4 separate regions of the Homo sapiens genome follow, and regions 1, 2 and 4 are each linked to region 3. Evidence: promoter capture Hi-C in human tissues and cell types (Jung and others, 2019). All regions are on one chromosome and are shown on one strand. The core of a region is centred on a gene start or on the middle of the fragment in contact, and the rest is flanking DNA. Distances in the headings are between cores, read along the strand shown. Region 1 overlaps FIBCD1 (fibrinogen C domain containing 1). Region 2 has its middle 48 kb from the start of FUBP3. Region 3 holds the start of EXOSC2 (exosome component 2). Region 4 overlaps ABL1 (ABL proto-oncogene 1, non-receptor tyrosine kinase).

The links. The method cuts DNA at HindIII sites, captures the fragments that hold promoters and counts their contacts. A contact is called where the count stands out against the background at its distance.
Region 1: a contact is called between a fragment that was not itself captured here and the fragment with the promoter of EXOSC2 in region 3, in 1 of the 25 tissues and cell types used here (mesendoderm cells).
Region 2: a fragment that was not itself captured here is called in contact with the fragment with the promoter of EXOSC2 in region 3 in 1 of the 25 tissues and cell types used here (dorsolateral prefrontal cortex).
Region 4: a contact is called between a fragment that was not itself captured here and the fragment with the promoter of EXOSC2 in region 3, in 1 of the 25 tissues and cell types used here (dorsolateral prefrontal cortex).

Annotation. Positions count from the first base shown.
Region 1 is chr9:130,898,212-130,905,446 of GRCh38, reverse strand. FIBCD1 (fibrinogen C domain containing 1) reads left to right here. Exons shown (of 7, transcript NM_032843.5): 6 at 34-213; 7 at 1,124-3,007. The coding sequence ends at 1,383. Among named protein-coding and RNA genes, the nearest start is that of QRFP, 5.0 kb to the right of the region's middle. The HindIII fragment of the contact is 8,002 bases long and covers 1-7,235 here.
Region 2 is chr9:130,527,689-130,534,690 of GRCh38, reverse strand. No RefSeq gene overlaps it. Among named protein-coding and RNA genes, the nearest start is that of FUBP3, 48 kb to the left of the region's middle. RefSeq lists an enhancer at 6,665-7,002. The HindIII fragment of the contact is 8,183 bases long and covers 1-5,807 here.
Region 3 is chr9:130,688,086-130,695,029 of GRCh38, reverse strand. EXOSC2 (exosome component 2) reads right to left here and starts at 1,250. Exons shown (of 9, transcript NM_014285.7): 1 at 1,117-1,250. The coding sequence starts at 1,238. RefSeq lists an enhancer at 998-1,187. The HindIII fragment of the contact is 7,301 bases long and covers 1-6,297 here.
Region 4 is chr9:130,840,765-130,847,427 of GRCh38, reverse strand. The region is part of intron 1 of ABL1 (ABL proto-oncogene 1, non-receptor tyrosine kinase); the gene reads right to left. Among named protein-coding and RNA genes, the nearest start is that of ABL1, 8.8 kb to the right of the region's middle. The HindIII fragment of the contact is 3,526 bases long and covers 1-3,343 here.

The DNA of each region.
Region 1 (7,235 bases), core at 2,362-4,861, 210 kb before region 3:
CAGCTTCTCCCACCATTTTCCCCCCAACTTCAGGGCTCAAGAGGATCCACGCCCTGACCACACAGGCTGCCTACGAGCTGCACGTGGACCTGGAGGACTTTGAGAATGGCACGGCCTATGCCCGCTACGGGAGCTTCGGCGTGGGCTTGTTCTCCGTGGACCCTGAGGAAGACGGGTACCCGCTCACCGTGGCTGACTATTCCGGCACTGCAGGTGAGGCTCCAGCTGTGGCAGGGATGGGGAAGGGGGGCGGCCTGGGAGGATGGAGGACGGAGGAGGTCCTGCCCTCCAAAATGATCAAGGCTAATGTATTTTTCCCCCTTTGAAAGTAATCAGGTTTTTGAAAAATAACAAATATTGATAAACTACCAACCCCACATCACAATCAGAGGCCTGAAACCAATCTAAATTTTTTTTAAGTAATAAATTTTTCAAATTGGAAGAGTAAACAAGACAGAAAAGGGAAAATTTTCTTCCTTACCAAGGATCCCTCAGTCCTTGTCTTCATCAGTTGATTCAGTTGCATGTCATAAAAGATGAGCTTCTGCGAATCTTCTGTTCGTTTTTTCATAATAGTGTTGATGATGCCCTTCGGCCCTCTGGGGTCAGGGTCAAGGCTGCTTGCCTCCTCCTCCAAGTCCTGCTTGGTCCTCACCCCTGCAAGGCGAAGCCAGCAGAGCCTGGACTGTTTTCCCGTTTTGCAGATAAAGAAACTGAGCCCAGAGCCAGGAATCAGGAGACCCGGGGTTCGGGTCCGCTGGGTCTCTAAAGTGTGGTGGCTGGACCCCCCTGGGCTGGGTTTCCCCTCTCAGGCCGAGGAGCGGGGAGGCAGGAGAGGGAATGTGGAAAAGCTGGGGGGAGGGATAGAGACCGCCTAGACCCAGGGGCAGCCCCAGGCACGCCCGAGAAGGGACTGCGTGCGTGTGAGCTGCATGGACACACCCGGGTGTGGAGGGGCAGGTGCGCTTGCACGCGTGCACAGCAGTATGTGTGAGAGCACGTGCGTACGTGTATGCACTCACGTCCAGGTGCACGTGCAGTGTCTCGGTGTCTGCTCACACATGCAACACCAGTGGGTGTACCCGTGCCCCCCGTGCCCACACCTGTGTGCACCCCTGCGCAGGCGACTCCCTCCTGAAGCACAGCGGCATGAGGTTCACCACCAAGGACCGTGACAGCGACCATTCAGAGAACAACTGTGCCGCCTTCTACCGCGGTGCCTGGTGGTACCGCAACTGCCACACGTCCAACCTCAATGGGCAGTACCTGCGCGGTGCGCACGCCTCCTATGCCGACGGCGTGGAGTGGTCCTCCTGGACCGGCTGGCAGTACTCACTCAAGTTCTCTGAGATGAAGATCCGGCCGGTCCGGGAGGACCGCTAGACTGGTGCACCTTGTCCTTGGCCCTGCTGGTCCCTGTCGCCCCATCCCCGACCCCACCTCACTCTTTCGTGAATGTTCTCCACCCACCTGTGCCTGGCGGACCCACTCTCCAGTAGGGAGGGGCCGGGCCATCCCTGACACGAAGCTCCCTGGGCCGGTGAAGTCACACATCGCCTTCTCGCCGTCCCCACCCCCTCCATTTGGCAGCTCACTGATCTCTTGCCTCTGCTGATGGGGGCTGGCAAACTTGACGACCCCAACTCCTGCCTGCCCCCACTGTGACTCCGGTGCTGTTTGCCGTCCCCTGGCCAGGATGGTGGAGTCTGCCCCAGGCACCCTCTGCCCTGCCCGGCCAAATACCCGGCATTATGGGGACAGAGAGCAGGGGGCAGACAGCACCCCTGGAGTCCTCCTAGCAGATCGTGGGGAACGTCAGGTCTCTCTGAGGTCAGGTCTGAGGCCAGTATCCTCCAGCCCTCCCAATGCCAACCCCCACCCCGTTTCCCTGGTGCCCAGAGAACCCACCTCTCCCCCAAGGGCCTCAGCCTGGCTGTGGGCTGGGTGGCCCCATCCTACCAGGCCCTGAGGTCAGGATGGGGAGCTGCTGCCTTTGGGGACCCACGCTCCAAGGCTGAGACCAGTTCCCTGGAGGCCACCCACCCTGTGCCCCGGCAGGCCTGGGGTCTGCAGTCCTCTTACCTGCTGTGCCCACCTGCTCTCTGTCTCAAATGAGGCCCAACCCATCCCCCACCCAGCTCCCGGCCGTCCTCCTACCTGGGGCAGCTGGGGCTGCCATCCCATTTCTCCTGCCTCTGGAAGGTGGGTGGGGCCCTGCACCGTGGGGCTGGACTGCGCTAATGGGAAGCTCTTGGTTTTCTGGGCTGGGGCCTAGGCAGGGCTGGGATGAGGCTTGTACAACCCCCACCACCAATTTCCCAGGGACTCCAGGGTCCTGAGGCCTCCCAGGAGGGCCTTGGGGGTGATGACCCCTTCCCTGAGGTGGCTGTCTCCATGAGGAGGCCAACCCTTGCCATTGACCGTGGCCACCTGGACCCAGGCCAGGCCCGGCCCGGCGAGTGGTCAAGGGACAGGGACCACCTCACCGGGCAAATGGGGTCGGGGGGACTGGGGCACCAGACCAGGCACCACCTGGACACTTTCTTGTTGAATCCTCCCAACACCCAGCACGCTGTCATCCCCACTCCTTGTGTGCACACATGCAGAGGTGAGACCCGCAGGCTCCCAGGACCAGCAGCCACAAGGGCAGGGCTGGAGCCGGGTCCTCAGCTGTCTGCTCAGCAGCCCTGGACCCGCGTGCGTTACGTCAGGCCCAGATGCAGGGCGGCTTTTCCAAGGCCTCCTGATGGGGGGCCTCCGAAAGGGCTGGAGTCAGCCTTGGGGAGCTGCCTAGCAGCCTCTCCTCGGGCAGGAGGGGAGGTGGCTTCCTCCAAAGGACACCCGATGGCAGGTGCCTAGGGGGTGTGGGGTTCCGTTCTCCCTTCCCCTCCCACTGAAGTTTGTGCTTAAAAAACAATAAATTTGACTTGGCACCACTGGGGGTTGGTGGGAGAGGCCGTGTGACCTGGCTCTCTGTCCCAGTGCCACCAGGTCATCCACATGCGCAGATGTCTGCAGCGCTTCCTTCTGCCGTGGGCCCAGGCTGGACAGGACCTGGTCCCTGCCCTCTCGGTCCTCAGCTGGACGCAGATACAGCCAAGAATCAGGCAGTGGCAGCCTAGTGTGGCCGGGGTGGTGGCTGGAGCAGGCCAGGTGCGGGGCCACAAGGGGCAAGATGTGGGCAAAATGACCACATGAGATTCAACGGGAAATCCCTTCTTGGCTCCTCTTCCCACCATCTAGAAGCCAAGGGAGCCCACCCAGACCATCTGGGTTCCCAGAGCACCCTGTCATATTGCAGGGGCTGGGTGGGACCCGAGTTCTCATCCCAGGAGCCCCCCACCGACAGGCCCCAGGCAGGAGCTACCAGCCTCCCCATGCCAGTGACTGCGCCAGCGACTGCTTAGAAAGTGCCAGCACTTTCTGATGTGTCATCAAACAAACTCCTGGTGAGTGTGAAGTTAATGGACTCACAGATGTGTGGGTGCAGCAGGAGGCACCAGGGCCCTCGTGCCAGGGCTTGGCTGTGGAACAGATGCACCATGGCTGGGGCCTGGCGAGGGGCCGGGGGCAGGTGCAGGTGGCCTGTGAGCCTGTGGTCCAGGTCCAGGTCCCGGCAGCATCTGTCCTCAGTGGCTGGCTGCACTGGGGATGCCTGTCCCTTCTAGAGCCCTGTTACTGCCCTAGAGCACCGGCCCCTGTCCCAGACCAGGAGAGGGCACATGGCCCTACCAAGCACCGGCTGAATGGGCACGGAGCTTGACATGGTGGGGAGGGCCCAGGCCAGCGCACCGGCCCCACCCTCCCCAGGGGCACCTTCAAAGGCTGGCACTGGGGAAAAACGGTCCCTGCGCACCTGCTCCGGGCCACACCCTCTCACCCTAGCCCTGCAGAGCCTACGGTCTGATACCAGTGCAAATGGCTCTCATCTGAGACAGGAGGATGGGGATGCTGGGAGAGCCCTGGGCGAGGGACAGCTCGAGACCTGTGGGCTGAGTGACCAGGCCAAGGGCTAGCATGTGCACAGGGTCGCCTGGGACCCACGGGCCCCAAACCGTCCCCTGGGACCCAGTTTGAGGGTGGATGCCTGCAGCCCTCCATCCCACAATGCCACCTGACTGAGCCTCCTCCTGCTGCTTCACTTGAGGGGAGTAAGCTGAGTGGGAGGGGTCTCTGCATCGCCACACTGGGACCTGGAGGCAGCGCACCTGCGCCGTTGCTTCTCCACGTGCACAGGTAGGTTTTGTGGCTCAGCCAGTGGCCTTCCTCCTTTCCCCTAAACTTCACACATATCTCAGAGAGTTACACCAAAGGCCACGCAGCTGACTGCCTGAGCACCAAGGTCCAGAGGATGGAAGGAACCTTGGTTTCCATGCTGGTGGCCTCAGCACATTCAGCTGGAGAACAGCAAAGGAACAGAGCTGTGAGCCATTCTCAAACAGCTTTCCCCTGCAGCTGCGTGTAAATTGGTTTTATAATGTTTGTCTTTGGGACAAAAGCTGTATCGCCAGTGCCTACCTCCTTCTGGTGCCCCTAACCCTTCCTGCCACCTGTCCTCGTCCACACAGGCCTCTGGCTGGCTTGGCTGGGGCCAGAGCCCTGGAAGCTGGGAGCCAGGGTCTCTGGAGGCCCTGTCACCCAGGGGCGTGTCTGAGCAGGCAGAGATTTGGAGGATTGTTGAACCATCTCAAACCATGAGGACGCTGGCTCCAGGGAGGGGAAGGAAGAGGAGAGGTACCGTTTGTGTGAGATGGGGGGACGGGACATAAAGAACGCCTGTGGCCAGCGGCAGACCCGTCCTGTGACTTCAGGAGCAATGTACCGGCAGGAGGACCCAGCAGGGGACACACAGAACCCAGAACAAGGAGACAGGACACTAAGCTTTGGCCTCAGCGGACCGGGCTTCCCCAGGGCCTCCATTTCTTCATCTGCTTTCAGAGACAAGGATGTCCCCAAACTGTGTGGCCCAAGCAGCCGGCAGGACTTGGCAAACCCAGAGGGCTGAGGTCGGGCCTCGGTGGGATTTGTAGGGAGTGTTGGGAGCTCTGGCTCAAGGCTGGCCACGTTGGCCCCTCATGCGCTGACAGGTGTGTCTGACTCGGGCCACACAGCACTGGCCAGGGCTGCAGAGGGAGCTCAGAGGGCCAGCACAGCGACTGGTGGAGGAAGCCTGGTATGGGAGCATCGCTAGGCGAGGCTGTCAGCACTTGGTGTCTGTGCGTTCTGTCTTTAATAAAGTCTCATGGTGACCCAGCTCTGGTCTCTGCCTCCAGCCGGACTCCAAGCCTCGTGTCAGAGCTTGAGTGGATCAGATACCCACGTGTTCCAGGACTGCCTCTCGCTCTGTCTCCCCTGAACTCCTCTCATCATTTATTTTTAGAGACGGTCTTGTTCTGTCACCCAGGCTGGAGAGCAGTGGCACCATCACTGCCCACTGTGGCGAACTCCTGGGCTCAAGCGATCCTCCCACCTCAGCCTCCTGAGTAGCTGAGACTACACGTGCGCACTACCACACCCAGCAATTTTTTTTTTCTACTTTTTGTAGAGACGGGGTCTTAGCTATGTTGCCCAAGCTGGTTTTGAACTCCTGGGTTCAAGCCACCCTCCCGCCTCTGCCTCCCAAATTGCTGGGATTGCAGGCATGAGCCACTGCACCCAGCCACCATTTTCATTAGAGCAGCCAAAAGGCATTTCCCAGATAGCTCTGGACCCACTAGGGCTGCTCAAGACCCTCTGACTGGGCCAGTTCTGGGCTTTGCAAAGATGGCCTGGACCTGGTCAGGCGGACGCAGGGCCTGCCTCCTGCACAAGCCGCGCCCAGTGGGGTCGGTCCTCCTGGGGTCTGGGCTCTGGAGGATGAACCCGGGTCCTGCGGCATCGGTGCATCCCTCCCGGGTCCCCGGGGTGATAAACTATCCTGTGGGTCCCTGTGGCTGGGGACAGAGTTCCAAGGAACTGAGACACGTTATTGAATGAACAGTCCCCCATGGCTATTTATTCATAACATCAATTTGAGGCTTACGGATAAAACAATCCCTGGAGTTTATTTAATAAAATCCAGTATTTATCGAGTGCCTGTGTGGGAGGTGCCGCACGGGGCCAGTAGAAAGAGCGGCAGTGGCCTTGCCCTGTGCTCGGCCTCTGTCTGGCACCTGTCGGGGGCGGGCAGCCGGGGAGTCTCACACCCCCCCGTGCGGCCGGAGGTTTTCAAGTCCGGGTTCACAGAAGACGAATCCCACTCTTCCCTCCACCATGGACTTTCACTCAGCCAGCACAATGCCCACTGCTCTGACAGCTTGAGGGGGCAGAGGTGGGGGTGCCAGAGGAGGGAGGGCAGAGGTAGGGGGGCAGAGGAGGGAGGGGCAGAGGTGGGGGGTAGAGGTGGGGGCAGAGGAGGGAGGGGCAGAGGTGGGGAGGCAGAGGTGGGAGGCCAGAGTTGCGGGTAGAGGTGGGGGCAGAGGAGGGAGGGGCAGAGGTGGGGAGGCAGAGGTGGGAGGCCAGAGTTGGGGGTAGAGGTGGGGGCAGAGGAGGGAGGAGCAGAGGAGGAAGGGGCAGAGGTTTGGGGGGCAGAGGAGGGAAGGGCAGAGGTGGGGGGACAGAGGTGGGGGCAGAGGAGGGAGGGGCAGAGGTGGGGGGACAGAGGTGGGTGGGTAGAAGAGGGAGGGGGCACAGGTTGGGGGCAGAGGTGGGAAGGGCAGAGGTGGGAGGGGCAGAGGTGGAGACGCCTGGGGATGGGACTCCTGAGCCAGGCCACGGAAGTCACAGGCCATGGCCACCTGCCTCCCCACGTGCCACACCCATGCCAGGTGCAGGTGTGCCCAACTCAACCCTTTTCCCGCAACCACCAGACCAGCCTGAGGCAGCTCCTGGAAAGGTTCAAGGACTCAGTCACAGAGGTCCTCAGACAAGGGCTCATGCAATTCCGCGAGAAATGGTGCCCAACAGCATGGGAAGCGGCTTCCCAGGGCAGGAGGGGTTCGGCCAGCAGAACCGGAGCGGCAGTTGCCAACAGCCCAGGGGACCCGGGCTTAGATGGGGGCCACCACCCTGCGCCCTCCCTAGCAGCAGCAGTGAACACTGCCTAAGCGGGCACCATGCCACCCCGACAACCCCACCCCACCACACGGGCACTGCTGTCATGCCCAGCCAGGCGGAGGATCTGAAGCTCAGTGAGGTGGAGGCTGGCTGTGGCTGAGCCGGCTGTGGAACCCAGTCCGGGAGTGACATGTGGTTAA
Region 2 (7,002 bases), core at 467-2,966, 160 kb after region 3:
TGAGTTATATATCATTTGATTTAATAAGTATCTTTTGAGCATCAGTTATGGGTTAGGTCTTCTGCTAGGGGCTGAGAATACTGAGGTGAACGAGAAGCTCCCAGGTTAGCACGGGGGATAGACAGTGAATGAAAAATCCCAGAAATCATCATTCATTACAGCCTTGACACTGCTCTGAGGGGAAGTCACACAAGCCTGTAACAGGCCTCACGCTGGCTGGAAGGTCTGGAGGTCTCCTGGAGGCAGAGACCCTATGGGTGGGGAGACTGTTGGGGGAGGGGGATGAGGGGCCCCGGAACACTGAGCCCTGAAGGAGGCCGAGCCCCAGGTGGGCAGAGAGAGAGGGAAAGGAGGAGTCTGGGTAACAGAACAGGGAGAAGGTTCTGGGACATCCAGGCAATGGCTCTCACCTGTAATCCCAGCACTTTTGGAGGCCGAGTGAGCAGATCACTTGAGGTCAGGAGTTTGAGACCAGTTTGGACAATATGATGAAACTCTGTTTCTTTTTCTTTTTTTTTTTTTTTTTGAGACGGAGTGGAGTCTCGCTCTGTTGCCAGGCTGGAGTGCAGTGGCGCGATCTCGGCTCACTGAAGCCTCTGCCTCCTGGGTTCAAGTGATTCTCCTCCCTGAGCTTCCCAAGTAGCTGGGACTACAGGCGCGCGCCTTCACGCCCAGTTAATTTTTGTATTTTTAGTAGAGACGGGGTTTCACCATGTTGGCCAGGATGGTCTCAATCTCTTGACCTCGTGATCTGCCTGCCTCGGCCTCCCAAAGTATTGGGATTACAGGCTTGAGCCACCGCACCCGGCCACCCTGTTTCTACTAAAAATATGAAAAAAAAATTAGCGGTGTATGGTGGCACACGCCTGTAATCCCAGGTACTCAGGAGGGTGAGGCAGGAGAATCTCTTGAACCCGGGAAGTGGAGGTTGCTGTAAGCCGAGATGGCGCCACTGCATTCCAGCCTGGGCGACAGAGCAAGACTCCGTCTAAAAAAAAAAAAGGAAGGTTCTGAGGTGGGAAGGGACCCCTGAGGGGCAGGAGGGACCACAGCCAGGGCCAGTGAGGCCACAAGAGGCTGGGCGCAGGAGTGAGACCAAGAGAGGTCTCTGTTCTGCAAGTCGTAGTCACAAGCATTGGTGGTCCCAAAGGCCATCCTTGCTCGGATAGGGGAGAAAGATGCTCTTTTAAAAAAAAAAATTTGTTTTAACCAAAGGCAAGTCTTTCATTGAACTTCTTGCACCCCTCATCCACCCCCACCCAGCCCCAGTGCTGGCTCTTCCCCATTGTCCATCCCTGCAGCACCTGTTCAGGGGCTGGAGGACAGGAGGGACACACATAGCGGGAAGAAGGAGCAAGAGACAGAGACAAACCTTGTGCAGCAGACGGGGCAGACCACTGGGCAATGGGGGGCACCTGGGAAAGACGCGTGTCTCCTTCATGGCTCCCCTCGGGAAAGGAGTGGAGAATGCTTTCAACATGGAGAATGCCTTCTCCCCCTCCAGTAAAAGGTATGTCTTTTTGGGGTTTTCTCATTGCAATGGTAATGCACACCTGCTGTAAGAAAAAGCCAAGCGTCTATTAACTGGTTTTCAAAAGGAGAAAAAAGGAAAAGCCAAGTGTCTCGGAAATCAACAGGCCAGAACTTTGGAGCCCTCCTGGCTCCTGTCTTCCTCCCACCCCCAGGTCCAGTTGATGGGCTCCACCTTTGGAGTGGCTTCCGCTCTGACACTGACAGCCACCTCCACCCTCGGCTCTGACCCGAGCCCCCACCACAGATCTAACAGGCTCTTCACTCAGCAGCCAGCGGGGCCCTTTATCAATGGCAGGGCAGGGCACTCCTCTGCCCAAACCATTTGGTGTCTTCACTTTGCTTGGAGCAAAAGCCAAACCCTCCTCTCAGCCCTCAGGGACCTGTGTGATCCGCTCCCACCCTTTCCTCTGCCATCCCGCCTCTTTTCCCCCAGGGGGTCTTCAAGGATCTGGTCCCACACTGCACTCACAGCAGCTGCTCTCTGGAAAGCCTCAAGTCGTCTTGTCCTGAGTGTGTGCCCCCCAGGCCATAGTCAAAGACTTGCTTAGAAACCCAGCCTGAGGCTGGGCATGCTGGCTCATGCCTGTAATCCTACCACTTTGGTAGGCCAAGGTGGGCGGATTGCCTGAGCTCAGGCGTTTGAATCCAGACTGGCCAGCATAACAAAACCCTATCTCTACTAAAAATCCAAAAATTAGCCAGGTTTGGCACATGCCTATAGTCCCAGCTTCTTGGGAGGCTGAGGCAGGAGAATCGCCTGAACCTGGGAGGCGGAGGTTGCAGTGAGCTGGGATGGTGCCACTGCATTCCAGCCTGGGTGACAGAGCAAGACTCTGTCTCAAAAAAAAAAAAAAAAAAAAAAAAAAAAAAGATCCAGGTATGGTGGCTCACATCTGTAATCCTAGCACGTTAGGAGGCCGAGGTGGGTGGATCACCTGAGGTTGGGAGTTCGAGACCAGCTTGACTAGCATGGAGAAGCCCCGTCTTTATTAAAAATTACAAAATTAGCTGAATGTGGTGGCACATACCTGTAATCCCAGCTACTCGGGAGGCTGAGGCAGGAGAATTGCTTGTATCCTGGAGGTGGAGGTTACGGTGAGCCGAGATCGCGCCATTGCACTCCAGCCTGGGCAACAAGAGCGAAACTCTGTCTCAAAAAAAAAAAAAAAAAAAAGAAAGAAAGAAAGAAAGAAAGGAAAAAAAAAAAGAAACCCAGCCCTGGCATCATCCTTTCCTCCAGCCCTGCAGACCCTGCGGCCTCAGTAGCTCCGTGTCCTTATCTCTGCCTCCCAGCTCAGCAGGATGACTGCAGCTTGGATCCCTGCTCTCTGGTCTGTGGCTGGGAAATTGGCCCCAGGCAGAGATCTGGTGATTGTGGGGCTCACTTCATGGGTTTCCCTTCTCTCAGGGATTGTGGTCTTGCACAGTCTGAATCTATGGTCTTGCACCGAACAGAGTAGCCTCATAGATTCCATCAAGGGCTAGTTGTATACCCACTACTCCTCCGTGGCCTGTAGCAGATGTTTGCTATTAGCTTTATTTACTTATTTTTATAAAAATTTTTATTTTGGAATTATTTTTATTATTATTTGTTCTGTACAGACAGGGTCTCCCTCTGTTGACCAAGCTGGCCTTGAACTCCTGGCCTCAAGTGATCTTCCAACCTTGGCTCCTAAAGTGCTGGGATTACAGATGTGAGCCACCACGCCTGGGCCCAGAATAATTTTAGCTTTATAGAAAAGTTGCAAGGATAGTGCCGAGAGCCCCTGTATACTCATCATTCACTTTCTTCTACAGTTAACATCTTCTATAACCATGGCCCATTTGTCAAAACTAAGAAATTAACATGGGTGCAATATTACTAATTAAACTACAGACTTTGATTTCATCAGTTTTTTCATTAATGTCTTTGGATTGTCTAAAATCTGATCCAGAATCCCACGTGCTAGCAGCTCTATTTCAATAGCCAGAAACTGGGAGCAACCCAAATATCTGTCAACAGAAGTTGTGAAATAAATCGTGGTGCATTCCCATAATGAAATATGATGCAGGCCGGGCGCGGCGGCTCATGCCTGTGATCCCAGCACTTTGGGAGGCCTAGGCGGGCGGGTCATTTGAGATCAGGAGTTTGAGACTAGCCTGGTCAACATGGTAAAACCCCATCTTTACCAAAAATACAAAAATTAGCCGGGCATGGTGGCTGTGCCTGTAATCCCAGATACTCAGGAGGCTGAGGCAGAAGAATCGCTTGAACCCGGGAGGCAGAGGTTGCAGTGAGCTGAGATCGCACCACAGCACTCCAGCCTGGGTGACAGAGCGAGACTCCATCTCAAAAAAAAAAAAAGAAAAAAGAAAAAAGATAAAAGGAGTCTGACACAATTAATTAATGAATTCGTAAGTTTTTAGTAAATGATTAATTTTTAATTGGGGTTGAAGAGGTTAGAATTGTCATTACCATTTGTGGCAGACAGACCCTAAAGTGACCCCTGTAATTTTTGTTTAAAAGAATGGAGTCTTGCTATGTTGCCCAGGCTGGTCTTGAACTCCTGGGCTCAAGAGATCCTCCCGCCTCAGCCTCCCAAGTAGCTAGGACTGTAGGCATGAGCCACCATCCCTGGCTGACTCCCACTGATTTTTAACCTTTGGTATGTACACTCTTTGTAACCCCTCCTTTTGACTGTGGGTGGGACTAGGGATGTGCTTTTGGCTGAGATGATAAAGCTGAAGGAGTTTTGCAGGTGTAATTTAGATCTCAAGGCAGTTCATTTTGAGTTCATTGAAAGGGTTAGGCTGGACTTAATTAGGTAAAACCTTAAGTCTGGGCCCAGTGGCTCACGCCTGTAATCCCAGCACTTTGGGAGGCTGAGGTGGGTGAATCACTTGAGTCCAGGAGTTTGAGACCAGCCTGGACAACATGGCGAAACCCCATCTCTACCAAAATACAAAAATTAGTCTGGCGTGGTGGTGCATGCCTGTAATCCCAGCTACTTGGGAGGCTGAGGTGGGAGGATCCCTTGAGCCCTGGAGACTAAGATTGCAGTGAGCTGAGATCACGCCACTGCACTCCAGCCTGGGTGACAGAGCGAGACTCCATCTCAAAGAAAATGAAACAAACAAAAAAAGCTGAAGAGAGACTTGCAGAAGCAAGCTTCTATGGTGTGAACTGCCTTAGAGATGGCCACGTGGCACCAGGGGGCCACTGGCTGACAGCCAGCCAGAAAACAGGGAGCTCAGTTCTACTGGTGCAAGGAACTGAATTCTGCCGACCAATGCAAGACCTTGGAAGACGACCTGAGCTCTGAAAGAAGATGCAGCCCGGCTGACACCTTGACTGCATTTCAACAGCTGATCCATGTGCATGCCAAGGTTGGGAGTGCTGGTGTTTAGAACCTCCCGGAGTGAAATGAGAAGTGGGGAGTGTGCGTATGTGCGTGTGTGTGTCTGTTGACTGCAGCCTGATGAGACCCTGAAGACAAGACCCATTCAACTGTGCCCAGACTCCCGAGCCACAGCCACTGTGAGATGATCAACGTGTGTTGTTTGAAGCAATAGGTAGCTAATGCACCACCACAGCCATAGTGACTGGGAGCGGCATGGAACACTCCTGAGGTGCAGTTCAGATTTGTGCAGTTGACTATATGTAACTTACACCCAGGCTAAAGTGATCCTTCCACTTCAGCCTCCTAAGTAACTGGGACTACAGGTGCATGCCACCACACCTGGATAATTTTTAAATTTTTTGTAGAGATGGGGTCTCGCCATTTGCCCAGGTTAGTCTCAAACTTCTGGGCTCAAGTGATCCCCCCGCCTCAGCCTCCCAAAGTGCTGGGATTACAGGTGTGAGCCACTGTGCCAGCTCATATGTCTTTATTTGAAGAGACCTCGCTCCTCATCTCCAGTCCTGCATCTCATCCTGCTGGTTTCCTTCCCAGGGCTTTTCATCACATGTAATCTTCTTACATTTTTGTTTGCTTGTAACTTTTTGTTTGCTTATTAGTTTGTTTTCTGTCTCATCCTCTAGAGCAGTGTTGTACAACAGAAATGTAAGCCTCATAATTGAAAGTTTTCTAGTAGCTGCATTAAAAAAAAAAGAAATACGTGAATTTGTTTAATGCAATATATTCACAGTATGATCATGTCGGCATGTAGTGAATATTTTTAAAATTGAGATATTTTACATTCTTTTGCTTGCACTGTTTTTTGAGACAGGGTCTTGCTCTGTTACCCAGGCTGGAGTGCAGTGGCAGTGTGATCATAGCTCACTGCAGCCTCGACCTCCTGGGCTCACGTGATCCTCTCACCTCAGCCTCCCGAGTAGCTGGGAGTACAGGCCGGGCTGATGTTTGTATTTTTGTAGAGGCAGAGTTTTGCCATGTTGCTCAGGCTGGTCTGAAACTTCTGAGCTTAGGAAATCCTCCTGCCTCGGCCTCCCAAAGTGTTGGGATTACTGGTGTGAGCCACTGCGCCTGGCCAGTTTGCACTGTCTTTGAAATCCAGTGTGTATTTAACACTCACAGCGCATCTCAATGGGGACCGGCCACAGTTCACGCGCTCACACGTGGTGGGGCTACTGTTCCGGACAGCACAGCTTGAGACCGTAAGCTGTGGGGTGGTGGGGCGCATGGGGCTGAGGTCTCGCCCATTTTGCTCGCTGCTCTACCCCAGCGCTCAGCTCAGTGCTTAGCATGTCTCTGATGCTCAATAAATATGCAGTGAAGGAATGGGAGGTGAATGAAGTTACTTCAGATACTTTTTGGACATCTGGAGGGTATCTTTTTTTTCCTCCCTTCCATTCTACCTTCCTTTTTACCTAACTCCCTTCCCACCTTCCCTCCTCATCTCAGGCCCTTTCTTTAGGGTAAAGATCTTAACACACACATGCACACTCGCCCCTTCTCATTTCACTCCGGGAGGTTCTAAACACCAGCACTCTCAGCCTTGGCGCGCGCATGTATCAGCTGTTAAAATGCAGACTGTGGTCAGTAGGTCTGGAGCAAAGGGGCCCAGATTCTGCCTTTCTAGTGAGCTCCCAGGGGCCCCTGTGGGTCTATGGCCCCTGCTTGAAGGCGGGAGGCTGTAGAGCCGCCTGCTCTTCCTGCTGGCTCAGGCTAGGGGTAGAGGGTCACACGAGGACCGAGGAGAATTTGGAAGCAGAGCCCTCCTGCTCTTGTTAACCTTCCTCCCTAAATATGGGCTACTGTGCTTTCTGGGGAGCAAGGGGGTCCCAGCATGGGGTGGCTTGCTGCCTCTGGCCTCTGCCCTCGTTGGGATGTTGTGACTCAGGCAGGACACTCTGTTGAAGGTGGAGTTTCTGCCCCACACAGAGTCAAAGGCAGGAAGTCCCACCTTGGAGGCACACTGGGTCCACTGGTCCTGCCCAGAGGCTGTGGGACAGCCAAGCTTGGCCTTCCAGGGACCTATGATACCCCCAATACCACGACTGCCCCACCAGACTGGCTGGCCACTGCC
Region 3 (6,944 bases), core at 1-2,500:
TCTTAAGATTTCCTAGGGGCCAGGCATGGTGGCTCATGCCTGTAATCCCAGCACTTTGGGAGGCCGAGGCGGGCAGATCACACTTGAGGTCAGGGGATCGAGACCAGCCTGGCCAACACAGTGAAACCCTGTCTCTACTAAAAAAAAAAAAAACCAAAAATTAGCTAGGCATGGTGGCGTGCACCTGTAATCCCAGCTACTCAGGAGGCTGAGGCAGGAGAATCACTTGAACCCAGGAGGCAGAGGTTGCAGTGAGCCGAGATCGCACGACTGATCTAAGACAGACTCCGTCTCAAAAAAGAAAAAAAAATTTCCTGGTATCCACTAACCTTAAACTAACAGGTTAAAGGGCAATGCTATGAATGCTGTGCCCCTTGTACATATACAAGTAAAAAAATAATAATAATAAAGGTTGAAACACTAGTGTTATCTATGATGATATAATGGCTGGTTTTACTTCTTTTCTTACATAATTGTCTCATTTAATCCTCATTACCGTATCATACTGTTATTATCACTATCTTACAGATGAGGAAACTGACCGTGGAGAGGCAATGCCGCTAATAAGATGTGATGGTAGCAGGACCGGAACCCCAACTGTCTGACTCAAGAGCCTTCCCTCTTAACCACAATACACTGCACTACACCCCTTAGATTCAAAATGTGTATAAATGGGTGCATGCAGCACAATGTAACTGTTTGCCCTAAGATCGAACAATTACGGATTCTAAACTGAAGAGGAGGCAGCCAAGAACGCCCACCGTCCCCTCAGAGAGCTGAAAACTGGAAAAGAGCCTGCACCTAACCCTCCCCAGCTTTCCAGGTCTCCCACAAGGAAGGATCAAAGATTTGGACTTCAGGCAGAAGACCCAAAAGTCACAGCCACCGGAGGTCAGGAGTGGAGGGTTTCAGGGAGCTGAGACAAATGCAGACGGGGACACACAAGATGCAGGGAGCAAGAAGCACGAGGCTCGGAAGCGAGGTGTGTAGGATGCTCAGACGAAGTGCCCTGGGTCCCGCGGGGAGTTACACACACAGGGATACGAGGCCTGGACCACGTGCAGAGAGCCCTGAAGCCGCTCTCTGAAGCCTCGACTCCCCCAAGTCCCCACGTACCGCATGAATCCTGTGTCCGTAGTGATTGTATCCCCCGGCACCACTAGATGTTTCTTAGTGTCGCGGCCCAGTCTCTCGCTAAGAGGCTTGCGAGCCACTGGAAGCCTCATCTCCATCGCCATCTTGGCGCCAATGAGTTGCGCAGGCGCAGCTCAGTCGGGAGCTGCGATATCCGACTCCACAACTCCAGGCCGCGTTCGGAGGGGCGGGGAAGGGCGGGGACTCAGAGCAGCTGCCAATGAGAACTCACGGCCTAGAGGCCATGTTTACAATTGGCAACAATAAGGCGAACCCGAAGGGAAGGGAGCCGAGCTGCCATGTCTACTATTGGCAAGGAAGCACCCGTGGAATAATAAAATCTCACGTTGTGTGGCGTGTGACTTTTTACCAAAACTGTCTTGTACTCATCATCCCATTTATTGTTTACCAGGGTTAGAGATAATTGAGAAACGGACCTCTGAGTTTCTGTCCAATTCTAAGCTGCTGAAATCCGATATTTTGTAAGAGAGAGCTCAGGAGGATGGAGAGATGGGATCTACAGAAAACACTATTTGAACAGAAAGAAGAGCCCCTTTCCACACGGTTCCCAGTAGCGCCAGGATTCTACATTGCGGCCGCCCCGTGGGTGCTGGCTCAACATCATCATCTATAACCCCAAACCGGGCTCCAGATACTTCTCACTTGGTTCTGTCCTTTCATAAGGACTCCTTTGAACAAGCTAATTTACTCCAATATTTCTTTTGGAAACAAGTTAAAAATCGTCTAAGAAAACAGGTCAAACCTTGCAAGCCAGGTATATTTGGTAGGGAAGGGAAGAGCACACACAATGCGAAGATCTTGGCTTGCATTTAGTTACACAGCGAGTTGAGCGCTCTCTGTGTGCCAGGCGCTGTTCTAAGGACTCAGCGGGGAACAGACGGATGTCTCTGTGGGTTTTTCTGCGGCTCCGTTTTAATAGGAGGGTACCCCTCGCCCCTTCTCCCCGTCCCCCACTACCCTCTCCCTCTCCTTGCCCTGCATTCACAAGAAACTAATTGGGGATGGTAACTCCCCATGCACAGGGACTCTAAAGACGATTAAATGAAATCATTGGCATCAGCTGTGGTCAGTAAAGCCGGTAAACCAAGTCCGCCTCCTGAAGAAAGATCCATCGAGCCAATTGTTTTATAAATCTCCAAAGCGACAGCATTTCTTCCACTTAAGCAAGTCTCACGACCACACTTAAGAAAGCCAGCCCTGCCAGGCAGTCGATGACATGAATGCTAGTGCCCCGAGGCCCTGGGTAAGCGGGCTGCCAGACCCTCGCCCTCTGCCGTGCCTGGAGGAAGGCACTAGAGCCCAGCCCCTCGGTCCAGTCCTGCCGCGGCCATAAGAGGGCGATGGTGTCCTCTGAGCTCGCGTAGCCCGGCAGCCGGGGAGCCAGGCCCAGCGAGCGGCCCTAGGCGGAGCGAGAGTGTAGGCCTGACACCATCCAAGTTCTTCCCGGGAGGGAGAGACGTCGCCTTTACCCCGCGCATTCTCACAGCGTTCACAAGGTTGGCATTGTGGATACCAGTTTATGGAGGAGGAAATCGAGGCCCCAAAAGGAATGGAATTCACATTAGCAGATGGCTGCAAAGCCGATGTGTGTTCCAACTGCACGCGATTTACCCCAGAGCCTGCACCCTTTACCAGAAATAGCCCGAGTGCTTCGGCTGGTCCTTTGCTGAGTGCTTTACAAATACTATGTTATGTATTCCTCACTTTCAGCCCATCTTCGAGATAGGCATTGCTATCCCTGATGATCACTTGGGGCCACCGAGCCCCCCAAACAGACCCGTAACTGGGACTAGAATCCAAAACGACAGGGACTCCCCCTCTCCCATCCCCAGTGCTCCTCTTTCTGCATCATCACACGCACCTTTTTTTATTTTTATTTTTTTCGAGACAGAGTCTTTGTCACCCAGGCTGGAGTACAATGACACGATTATGGCTTACTGCAGCCTCGTCCTCCTGGGCTCAGGTAATCCTACCACCTCAGCCTCTTGAATAGCTTGGACTACAGGCACATGCCACCAGGCTCGGCTAATTTTTTGTATTTGTCTTGTGAAGACAGGGTTTCACCGTGTTGCCCAACCTGATCTCGAACTCCTAAACTCAAGTGATCCGCCCACCTTGGCCTCCCAAAGTGCTGGGATTACAGGCATGAGCCACCAAGCCCGGCCACACTTACCCCTTTACGACCAGTAGACAAGTGGGTACCCGGAGACGAAGCAGCACATCCCAGGGGGCTTGTAAAAAGTATAGATTCCTTAGGCATTGAGGCTGTAAACCCCGAATATCTGAGACAGGTCTCAGTTAATTTAGAAAGTTTATTTCACCAAGATTGAGGATGTGCCTGTGGCACAAGCTCAGGAGGTCCTGACAACCTGTGCCCAAGGTGGTCGGAGCGCAGTTTGGTTTTATACATTTTGGGGAGACATGAGGCATCAATCAACATATGTGAGATGAATATTGGTTCGGTCTGGAAAGGCTGGACAACTCGAAGCTGGGAAGGGGCTTCCTGGTGATAGGTAGATAAGAAACAAATGGTTGAGGCCAGGCGCGGTGGCTCACGCCTGTAATCCCAGCACTTTGGGAGGCCGAGGTGGGCGGATCACGAGGTCAGGAGATCGAGACTACCCTGGCTAACACGGTGAAACCCCGTCTCTACTAAAAATACAAAAAAAAAAAAAAAAAAAAAATTAGCCGGGTATGGTGGCTGGTGCCTGTAGTCCCAGTTACTCGGGAGGCTGAGGCAGGAGAATGGCTTCAACCCGGGACGCGGAGTTTGCAGTGAGCCGAGATCGCACCGCTGTACTCCAGCCTGGGCGACAGAGTGAGACTCCGTCTCAAAAAAAAAAAAAAAAAAAAAGAAAGAAAAAAGAAACAAATGGTTGCATTTTTTGTATTTTTAGTTTCTGATTAGCGTCTCCAAAGGAGGCAATCAGGTATGCATTTATCTCAGTGAGCAGAGGGGTGACTTTGAATAGAACGGGAGGCAGGTTTGCCCTAAGCAGTTCCCAGCTTGACTTACTTTTCCCTTTAGCTTAGTGATTTTGGGGCCCCAAGATTTATTTGCCTTTCACAAGGCTCTGCAAAGGTAAGGTCCAGAAGTCTGTGCGTGTTTTAACTCCCTATGTAATTTCAATGGCGGAAAAGGTCTAAGATTCACTGATGCCACACATCTGTGCATCTCCGCAGCCACTGCCCCAGGCTGATCAACGGCATCTCTTACCAGGGAGATAACCTCCTAGCTTGTCTTCCTAATTCTACTTTTGTCCTTCCTATCATCCAATCTCCGCACAGCAGCCAGAGAGAGCTTTAAAAACAGATTAAATCACTTCTCTGCTTCCAGCACTTCTTGACTCCTGCCTGTCTCTGACCTCACGCTCGTCCTAACCCACTGCGTTACTCACTATGCTGCAGCCGGACTGTTAACGGTGGAGGGTGCCCAGCTTCTCGGCGTCTTGGACAAAACATACAGACAAAACAAGGAAAGAATAAAGCAACAAAAGCAGAGATTTATTGAAAACGAAAGTACACTCTACAGGGCAAGAACAGCTCAAGCAAAGAAACTCAACAGGCTCCTTACAGAAGTTTCTGGGGTTTAAATACCCTCTAAAGGTTTCCCATTGGTTATTTGGTGTACGCCCTGTGTAAATGAAGGAGTGGCCCGTGATCAGTCTGATTGGTTGTGGAAAGTGGCCAATCAGAGGCTGAAGTTAAAAGTTACACCCTACGCCAATGTCTGATTGGCTGTGGAAAGTTATCAATCAGAGGCTGAAGTGAAGTTACAAAGTTATACTCCCATGCAAATGAAGACTTGGCCACCTACCAGCCTGACTGGTAGTGGGAAGGGAGCAATCAGAGGTACTTTCAGTTTTTCATCTGCACACAGAAAAGCTGGGATTGCAAAGGGAGTAGCCTCTGGTCCTTTGGTTACTTGGACGTGGAAAGTTGGGGTTTTCCTTTTGATTTAGTTCTAGAAAGTCAGTGTGAATCAGCCTTATGTTCCCTGCCTCCAGACCCTATTCTCCTGCCTCAAGACTAGCTGGCTTCCCCTCGGTTCCACAGCACCAAGCTTCTCATCACTCCAGGGCCCTTCACTCTGGTCTCTTTCTGCATGAATTCTCTTCTCCCAGGCTTTTGTGTGGCTGGCTCCTTCTCCTCACTCATGGCTTGCTCAAACATCACCTCCTCAGAGAAGACTTCCCTGATCACCTTATCTGGAATAACTTTCCAGTCCTTTTTTTTAATCCCTTGATCCTGTTTTACTTCTTGTCACTGATTTTTCTTTTTCTTTTCTTTTCTTTCTTTTTTGAGAGAGAGACTTGGTCTTGTCACCCAGGCTGGAGTGCAATGGCGCGATCTCAGCTCACTGCAACCTCTGCCTCCTGGGTTAAAGAGATTCTCCTGCCTCAGCCTCCGGAGTAGCTGGGATTACAGGAACCCATCACCACGCCCAGCTAATTTTTGTATTTTTAGGAAATACGGGGTTTCACCATGTTGGCCAGGCTTGTTTCAATCTCCTGACCTGAAGTGATCTGCCCACCTTGGCCTCCCACAGTGCTGGGATTACAGGTGTGAGCCACCATGCCTGGGCTTCAATTTTCTTTCTTTTTTTTTTTTTTTTTGTTCATTGATTGCAGTCTCCCCCCACTAGAACATGCATTGCTGAAAACAGGGACTTTATCTATTCTGTTCATCATATATCAATGCTTAGATCCAGGCCTGGCACACAGGGCAGCCATAAAATATTTGTTGAAAAAAATACAATATATTTACAAAATACAGATTTGCTTGTCTGCTCATCGCCTGTCTTCCCACAGGATATGAGCCCCACCAATACCCAGACTGTCCATTTGGTTCACTGCCCATTTCGTATATATGCTTGATATATAGTAGGCCCTTGTATTAAGCATGCATTTGCTCTTTTTTTTTTTTTTTTTTTTTTTTTTGAGACGGAATCCTGCTCTGTCGCCCAGGCTAGAGTGCAATAGTGTGGTCTCTGCTCACTGCAACCTCTGCCTCCTGGGCTCAAGCGATTCTCCTCTTGAACCTACTGCAGCCTCCTGAGTAGCTGGGATTTTAGGCACCTGCCACCACGCCTGGCTAATTTCTGTATTTTTAGTAGAGACGGGGTTTCACCATGTTGGCCAGGCTGTTCTCGAACTCCTAACCTGGTGATCCACCCGCCTCGGCCTCCCAAAGTGCTGGGATTACAGGTATGAGCCACTGTGCCCAGAGCCTTTGCTTTTCTGTACTCAGATGCTTTGAGATCTTGGGGACTTGCTCTTCCCAGAGGGACTGCCCCAACCAGGGTTAACTGGTTCCTGGAGATAGTGAAGAACTCACCCAGGAGGTCCCTTGCAAATGCATGCCACCCAATCCAGAGCCCACACCCACAAACACCTCCTTTATTAGGCTCTCTTACTCAGGGCCAGTATCCAACTGCCCTGATCATCCCAAGGCCAGACACCAGACAGCTAGGGAAAGCCCTTATATAAACCCCAGCACCTACTGCAGTTATTCAAACCAACCAATCCTAAGGCTGCTTACCTTGCCTCACCCATTCCTTCCCATGGAAACCACAATAAAGGCTCTTGCTCATGTTTACCCCTCCTTCCCTCTGCCTCCTGACCAACCCGGTGCTTTCCTGTGCGGCTCTGCATGGCGCACCCTGCCTCTTGTTTCTAGAACAAAGATTTCCATGTTGGCATACCATGTCAGATTTCAGGACCCTTGAAACAGCTCTCTGCTGGGCGCAGTGGCTCACGTCTGTAATCCCAGCTCTGTAGGAGGCTGGG
Region 4 (6,663 bases), core at 331-2,830, 150 kb before region 3:
GTCAGGAAGCAAGATTCCCCTAAAGAAGGCTGAAGGCTTCATTCAAAAAAAAAAGATGCCCCAACTAGTTCCCTTCTTCTGTTCTTCCAGCAGATCTTTTTGGCTATTGTCTTGGGAAATAAATTTTAGCATCTGCTATTATTCTTAAATTTTTTTAGTGAACATTTTCTGCAGCCTCCTTTCTGAGTCATACTTTAAACAGATTTAAGATCTGGATCTAAGATCTGGATCTTCAAAAGTGCCTCTCACTCCACTTAAAACCATATTGTTATTTTGTCATAATGTTAACAAAAAGGTTTCCACTCACCAACTAAACTCAGAAAAAATCACTAATTAGCTAGTTGAGCACCGAGAACAGTAATACATCTAAAAAATGCCTCAAACCTCTAAAAAGCTCTGGCTCTGTCTATGACAGTATAAAATTATTTGGAAATTTTATAAGAACCAGGCCACAGAATTCACTGGATCTGTGCATGATTAACTTGTTTAGACAGTATTCTAAGAAAATGGTTTGGGTCTTTAAAGTAAAATTGAAAGATCGTTTTATATAAAAATAATCCTTTCTCAAAGCTGTGAGTCACTGATGAAAAATGTTTACAAAAGATTCTCGGACATGGCATATCTGGCCTAGACTTCCAGGGGCTGCTGGTGCTGTGCCAGACGCTGGCGAACAGTCAGGGAAGGGAAATGCCCATGAACCCCAGTACCGGCTACTTCACAGCCCAAGGGGGGACTTGACCTCCAGGAAAAACATCCCCGGGAAGCTTCCCACCTTCCTGCTGGCACTTGTGCCCAACATCATAGTTCCCACTAGAGTGCAAGGCGGCCAGCTATGGAGCATTCATTACTGTTCACACTGTGGGCTCTCCGGAAGGTTCTTGGAGACGGTTCAGTGTGGGGGGGACAGGAGGATGGAGCATGTCAGACGTGACAAACGTTCCCTTTAATTTTGCTCACATTCAATTATTTAAACTTGTGCTGCTTTATTCATATTTCCTTTGTGGGTCCTTCGCTATTATCCTCCAGTTCAAGGAATCTCTGTAATTTAAAAATCTATAAAACAGATCCTTCTAAAAAGAGGCTTCGTGTTTTATTTCATACTCCGTTCCAGCGGATGAGATCATGCTCAGACTATTCTCAAGTTATTTTATAACAGTCTCAAACAACTTTTCAAAATATGAGCTTAGAGGAAAAGTATTATTTCCCACATTTTGAGCTTGATGAAAGTCATTTTATCTATTTCTACATGGTCCTTTATTTTGTAATTTACACCTTCACCCAGAGAAGTTAAAATTATTAAAACACACACACACACAAGCACACACACACACACACACACACACACAGACATACGTTTAACTGAACACAGCCTTTGTGTTATCTTCAAATCCCAAAACACTGTGTCAGCTGCTAGGGTGCAGGGAGGGGCAGGGCAGTGGGGGAAAGACGTAAAGAACCAGCAGTAGCCCCGCTCCTTGGAGAAACACAGCTGCTGAAAACTTACAGACTCAACAGCAAAAGTCTAACGGAAGGCCAGCGCTGTCCTGTGGATGAATTTTTTTTTTTTTAGATAGAGTTTTGCTCTTGTTGCCCGGGTTGGAATGCAATGGTGCATTTACAGAGGATTGCAAAGGAGAACAGTCCTCAAAAGACTTTTTGAAACAGTCCTCAAAAGACTTTTAAAAACTTGTAATATAGCTCTTATTAATGCCTTAAATAACTGTCTCTTTATTCGCACATTAAATAACAAGGTCCAGTGGCAACTATGTCATTTCAAAGTAGTGGTGCGAACAATGATCACAACCGTCACCTGATATCAAACACCTGGTTTCTGGCCAGGTGTGGTGGCTCACTCCTGTAATCCCAGCACTTTGGGAGGTCGTCTCTACTAAACCACGTCTCTACTAAAAATACAACAATTAGCTGGGCGTGGTGGTGCACATCTGCAGTCCCAGCTACTCGGGAGGCTGAGGCAGGGGTTTCGCTTGAACCCGGAAGGTGGAGGTTGCAGTGAGCCAAGATTGCATCACCACGCTCCAGCCTGGGCAACAGAGCTCGACTCTGTCTAAAAAAAAAAAAAGAAAGGTTAAGATTTGGACTGTTGATGGGGATAGGAGTTAGGATGGAGAATTTTGTTTCTTAAAAATTGTCTGGCTAAGACATTGTCATGTAAAAGATTCCAGGGGAAATATTTAAACCTTGGACTAATTAAATAACTTTATTTTTAAAGGAGGTTTCTCTAGAAACTCATTTAATCTACTGCCTATAATGGCTACAAGTGGAAAGTAATAAAACTGCATTTATTTTAAAAGAAAATTGCATAATTTGGACCTCTCACTAATTTATCCCAGTCTCCTTTTTAGGCTCTTCCTGTGAGAATGCTGAGGTTTTACTGAGCCAATTCCTTAGTGCAGGACTTGTTAACCTGGAAGACCCTGGGAGTCTGGGATAGAATTCAAGGGCTCCATGTCCTCTGATGGGAAAAATTAAAATTTTATTTCACTAACCTCTTACTAAAATGTAGCATTTAATTTTTTTAAGAACACAGGTAACAAACCAGAGTAGAAGTACAGTGCCTGTGACTGTCTCTGGTAGAAACTAGGTATTTCTTTTTTTGTTTGGTGGGGAAACCGAGTTTCACTCTTGTCATTCAGGCTGGAGTGCGGTGGCGCGATCTTGGCTCACTTCAACCTCCGCCTCCCGGGTTCAAGTGAGTCTCCTGCCTCAACCTCCTGAGTAGCTAGGATTACAGGCGCCTACCACCATGCCCAGCTAATTTTTATATCTTTAGTAAAGACGGGGTTTCACCATGTTGGCCAGGCTGGTCTTGAACTCCTGACCTCAAGTGATCTGCCTGCCTTGGCCTCAAATATTAACCTTTCTGAAGATACACAGTCCCTGTCCCCCTCCCTCAACCAAAAAGGAAAAAAAAAAAATTGTGTCACCTTCCAAGAATCTACGGTGAAAAAGTCTCCAATTACTGGAAATGGAGTACAAAGACACTCATAAATAGAGATGCCACTATCTTCAAGGCCATTCTGAACACCTGCCATTGACGCCCATATCAGGACTGAGGCTGGAAGTCATCCTCTGTCAGTTCCCACCCTGCATCTTGGCACTTTTCCTCCTCAATCTCTCATCACTTCTGTCCTTTCCATGCTCTACCACGCCCTTGGCTGGGTCCCCCTTTGGCCATTCCACCTCCACTCCCTACTATCAGGGCCATCTTTCTCAAATGCAGACCTGACCAGGTCACTCTCTTGCTTCAAATCCCTTAGAGATGGCTGCCAGCCGAGAGGCAGAAGAGAGCATGGGCTTGGGAGGTGGCCCTGTCTCCCAATGGTCAGCTACCACTTACTGGCAGTGTCATCGGGGGCAATGCTGGGATCATGATGTGCTTTGCAGGGTAGCTGGCAGTTTGCAGCTAACATGGGACATGTTTTTGAGGGCCTAGGCATGCACAGGCCCTCAAAAAATGGCTGGGGTTGTTATTCCTTCCACCACTATAGTAAAAGTCTGAGCTCCTGAAGCAGGCATGCCAGGCTCTTCAGGGTTGAGACTGGGAGCATCTGGCCCTCTACTCCTGCTTTCCATTCCAGCCTCTCCAAACTCCTTTCAGATCCCCCAGGCCTCCTGTTGCTTGCCTCTCCTGACTGCACTGTGACAAGTGCCATTTACTCTCCCTAGAGTTCGTTCCCCAGCCTCTTCTGCTCTTCCTGGCCTCCCCATCTCCCATAAACCTTCTCTAACCGGTCCTTCCTCCTCCCCATCACCTCGCCCACAACAGGATGCTTCTCCTTTAACCCATTTGGGTACCTGGTGTCTGTCTCTATCACCACCCTGCATCTATCACCCAGTAAGCAATCTGTTCACATGTCCCCAGCAGTACAAAAAGCATGGGCTCTGGGTGGACAGGCCTTGTTCAAACCTCAGCACCAGCATGTCTTGAAGACATTTGTTTCTGAGCCTCAGTTTCTCAACTGCACAACAGGGCAACAACGGCATGGCATCAACCTAGTTGGGCTGTCGGGAGGGCTCAATGAATCCTGCATGCAGAGAATTTCTGCATGGATGCCAACTGTGGCACCTGACACTGGGATGCTCACTACAGAACAACCGCGTCTTCTCTTATGCCACGCCTTCTCTTCTGCCACCACAACAATGTAAACTCCTCTGGGGTAGAGACCAAGTCTCTCATATCTCAGAGCCTTCTGTGCCTGCTCAGTGCAACGCAACAACACAGCACTGCTGGGTGAACTCAGATGTGGAACACCCTGCACTTGTCTGTCTTTAGCTACAAGGTACTGAAAAGTGCAGTTTAATAATCTGTTAACCTGTAATAAGAGCAGCAATAATGACAGATAGTAAAGTTGAAAAACAAATGCAACCTGACCAGGAAAACCTATATAAAAGCCTAGGGAACATAATGATTTGTTTTGACTGAAATATAAACCATGGCCAAAATCCTAAAGGTATAATGTAAAAACACAGTTCTCTGTGCTTTCAAAAGAAATAGGATTTGCTCCAGATTCCTAACAGACACCACAGTGAGCTCGCCGGACACCTTCCCAACAGGTTCCAGGAATCCCTGCAGTGGCCGCAGATCCAGACTGTCCACAGTCAGCCTGCTAATACCCACAAAGGCATTTTTATTGTCACAGGCCATTTGCAACAGACTGAAAGGCCTCCCCTTCTGCTGCCAGCCATGGCTGGTTTGAAAGCATTCACATTTCCTCTTCTTTTAACATGTCTTCATGGACTCCGGGGTCAGCTGACACCAGAGGCACTGGGCTACCCAATGACAGGCAATTTCCCCAGAAAGCCTTGTTAGCCATTAGTATTTTTATTGCTGATCTGGGTAAATGAACATGACCCTCCCCACCCTCATGGTATTTTGGCTTCAAAAAGCAATGCCTAATTGTATTCACGGCCTGTCTTTAAATACAATTTTAAGGTATTCAATGAACAACGCTATTAGCTAAATTTGAGGGCTTGTAAGACAGATAAAGACTAGGTTTCTATAGAGAATTTAAGAGTAATGAGGTTAAAGTTTATGCAACTTAATGTGATAGAATAATAGCTAATACTTACTGATCCCGTATCAAGTGCCAGCACTTCATCTGCACTGAATCCCTATAACCTTATTACGTAGACTCTATTATGAAGGCATTTGAGGGCAGGAAATGGAAACAGAGAGATGTGAAGTTACTGATGGCCTCTCTCTCCAGCTACCCATCCATACATCAGCTGCCTGTCCATCATCTGTCTCCTGCGCTTCTCTTGCTCTCACTCATTCTCTCTCTGTACCCACCCACCCCAGCCCCACTGGCCATCCTATTCCTCTTTGTCTCCCTTCTCTCAGTCTTCCTTCCCTCCCAGCTTGTTTTTTTTTCCCTTTCCTGTCTCAACCTTTTTGTATTTGTCTCTCAGTCTCTGTCTCTATAGATTTCCCCCTTATGTCTCCCCTTCCTCCCTCCCTCTCTCTCTCTCTATCTCCTTCCCACCTATTTCTCTCTGTCTTCCCTATCACCAGTACTCAACACACGCAATATAACAAAAATATTTATGGTGTAACATGGTAAAGAAAGAAGGATTTGAAAACCAACTTTTTTTTTTGAGCTGGAGTTTTTGCTCGTTGCCCAGGCTGGAGTACAATGGTGAGATCGCGGCTCACTGCAACCTCTGCCTCCCAGGTTCAAGTAATTCTCCTGCCTTAGCCTCCTGAGTAGCTGGGATTACAGGCACTCCCCACTACGCCTGGCTAATTTTTTATATTTTTAGTAGAGACAGGGTTTCAGCATGTTGGCCAGGCTGGTCTCGAACTCCTGACCTCAGGTGACCACCTGCCTCGGCCTCCCAAAGTGCTGGGATTACAGGCGTCAGCCACCGCGCCCGGCCTGAAAACCAATTTCTAGAGCAAGCTTGTTCAACCCATGGCCCACGGGCTGCATATGGCCCAGGACGGCTTTGAATGTGGCCTAACAAATTTGCAAACTTTCTTAAAAACATTATAAGATTTTTGGCCCGGTGCAGTGGCTCACGCCTGTAATCCCAGGGCTTTGGGAGGCCGAGGTGGGCGGATCACGAGGTCAGGAGATGGAGACCATCCTGGCTAACATGGTGAAACCCCCGGGCGCCTGTAGTACCCTCTACTAGGGAGGCTGAGGCAGGAGAATGGCGTGAACCCAGGAGGCGGAGCTTGCAGTGAGCTGAGATCGTGCAACTGCACTCCAGTCTGGGCGACAGAGTGAGACTCTTGTCTCAAAAAAAAAAAGAAATGAGATTTTTGTGGGATTTGTTTTGTTGGTTTAGCTCATCAGCTATCGTTAGTATGTTTTACGTGTGGCCCAAGACAATTTTTCTCCCAATGTGGCCCAGGGAAGCCAAGATTGGACACCCCTGTTCCAGAGTAACGATTCTACCCATCTGAGGACAAAGTTACACTATCAAAACTAAGTAATTATAATTAGCAAGCTATTCTTCCTAATGGCTTTGAAACTGTAACTTTATTATGTAAGAAAACAAGACTGACTATAAGCTGATAATTGTTAAAGCCACATCATAAGTACATGGGAGTTCATTATGCTGTCTACTTTTGAGACAGTTTTAGGCTGGGTGCAGTGGCTCATGCCTGTAATCCCAGCACTTTGGGAGGCTGAGGTG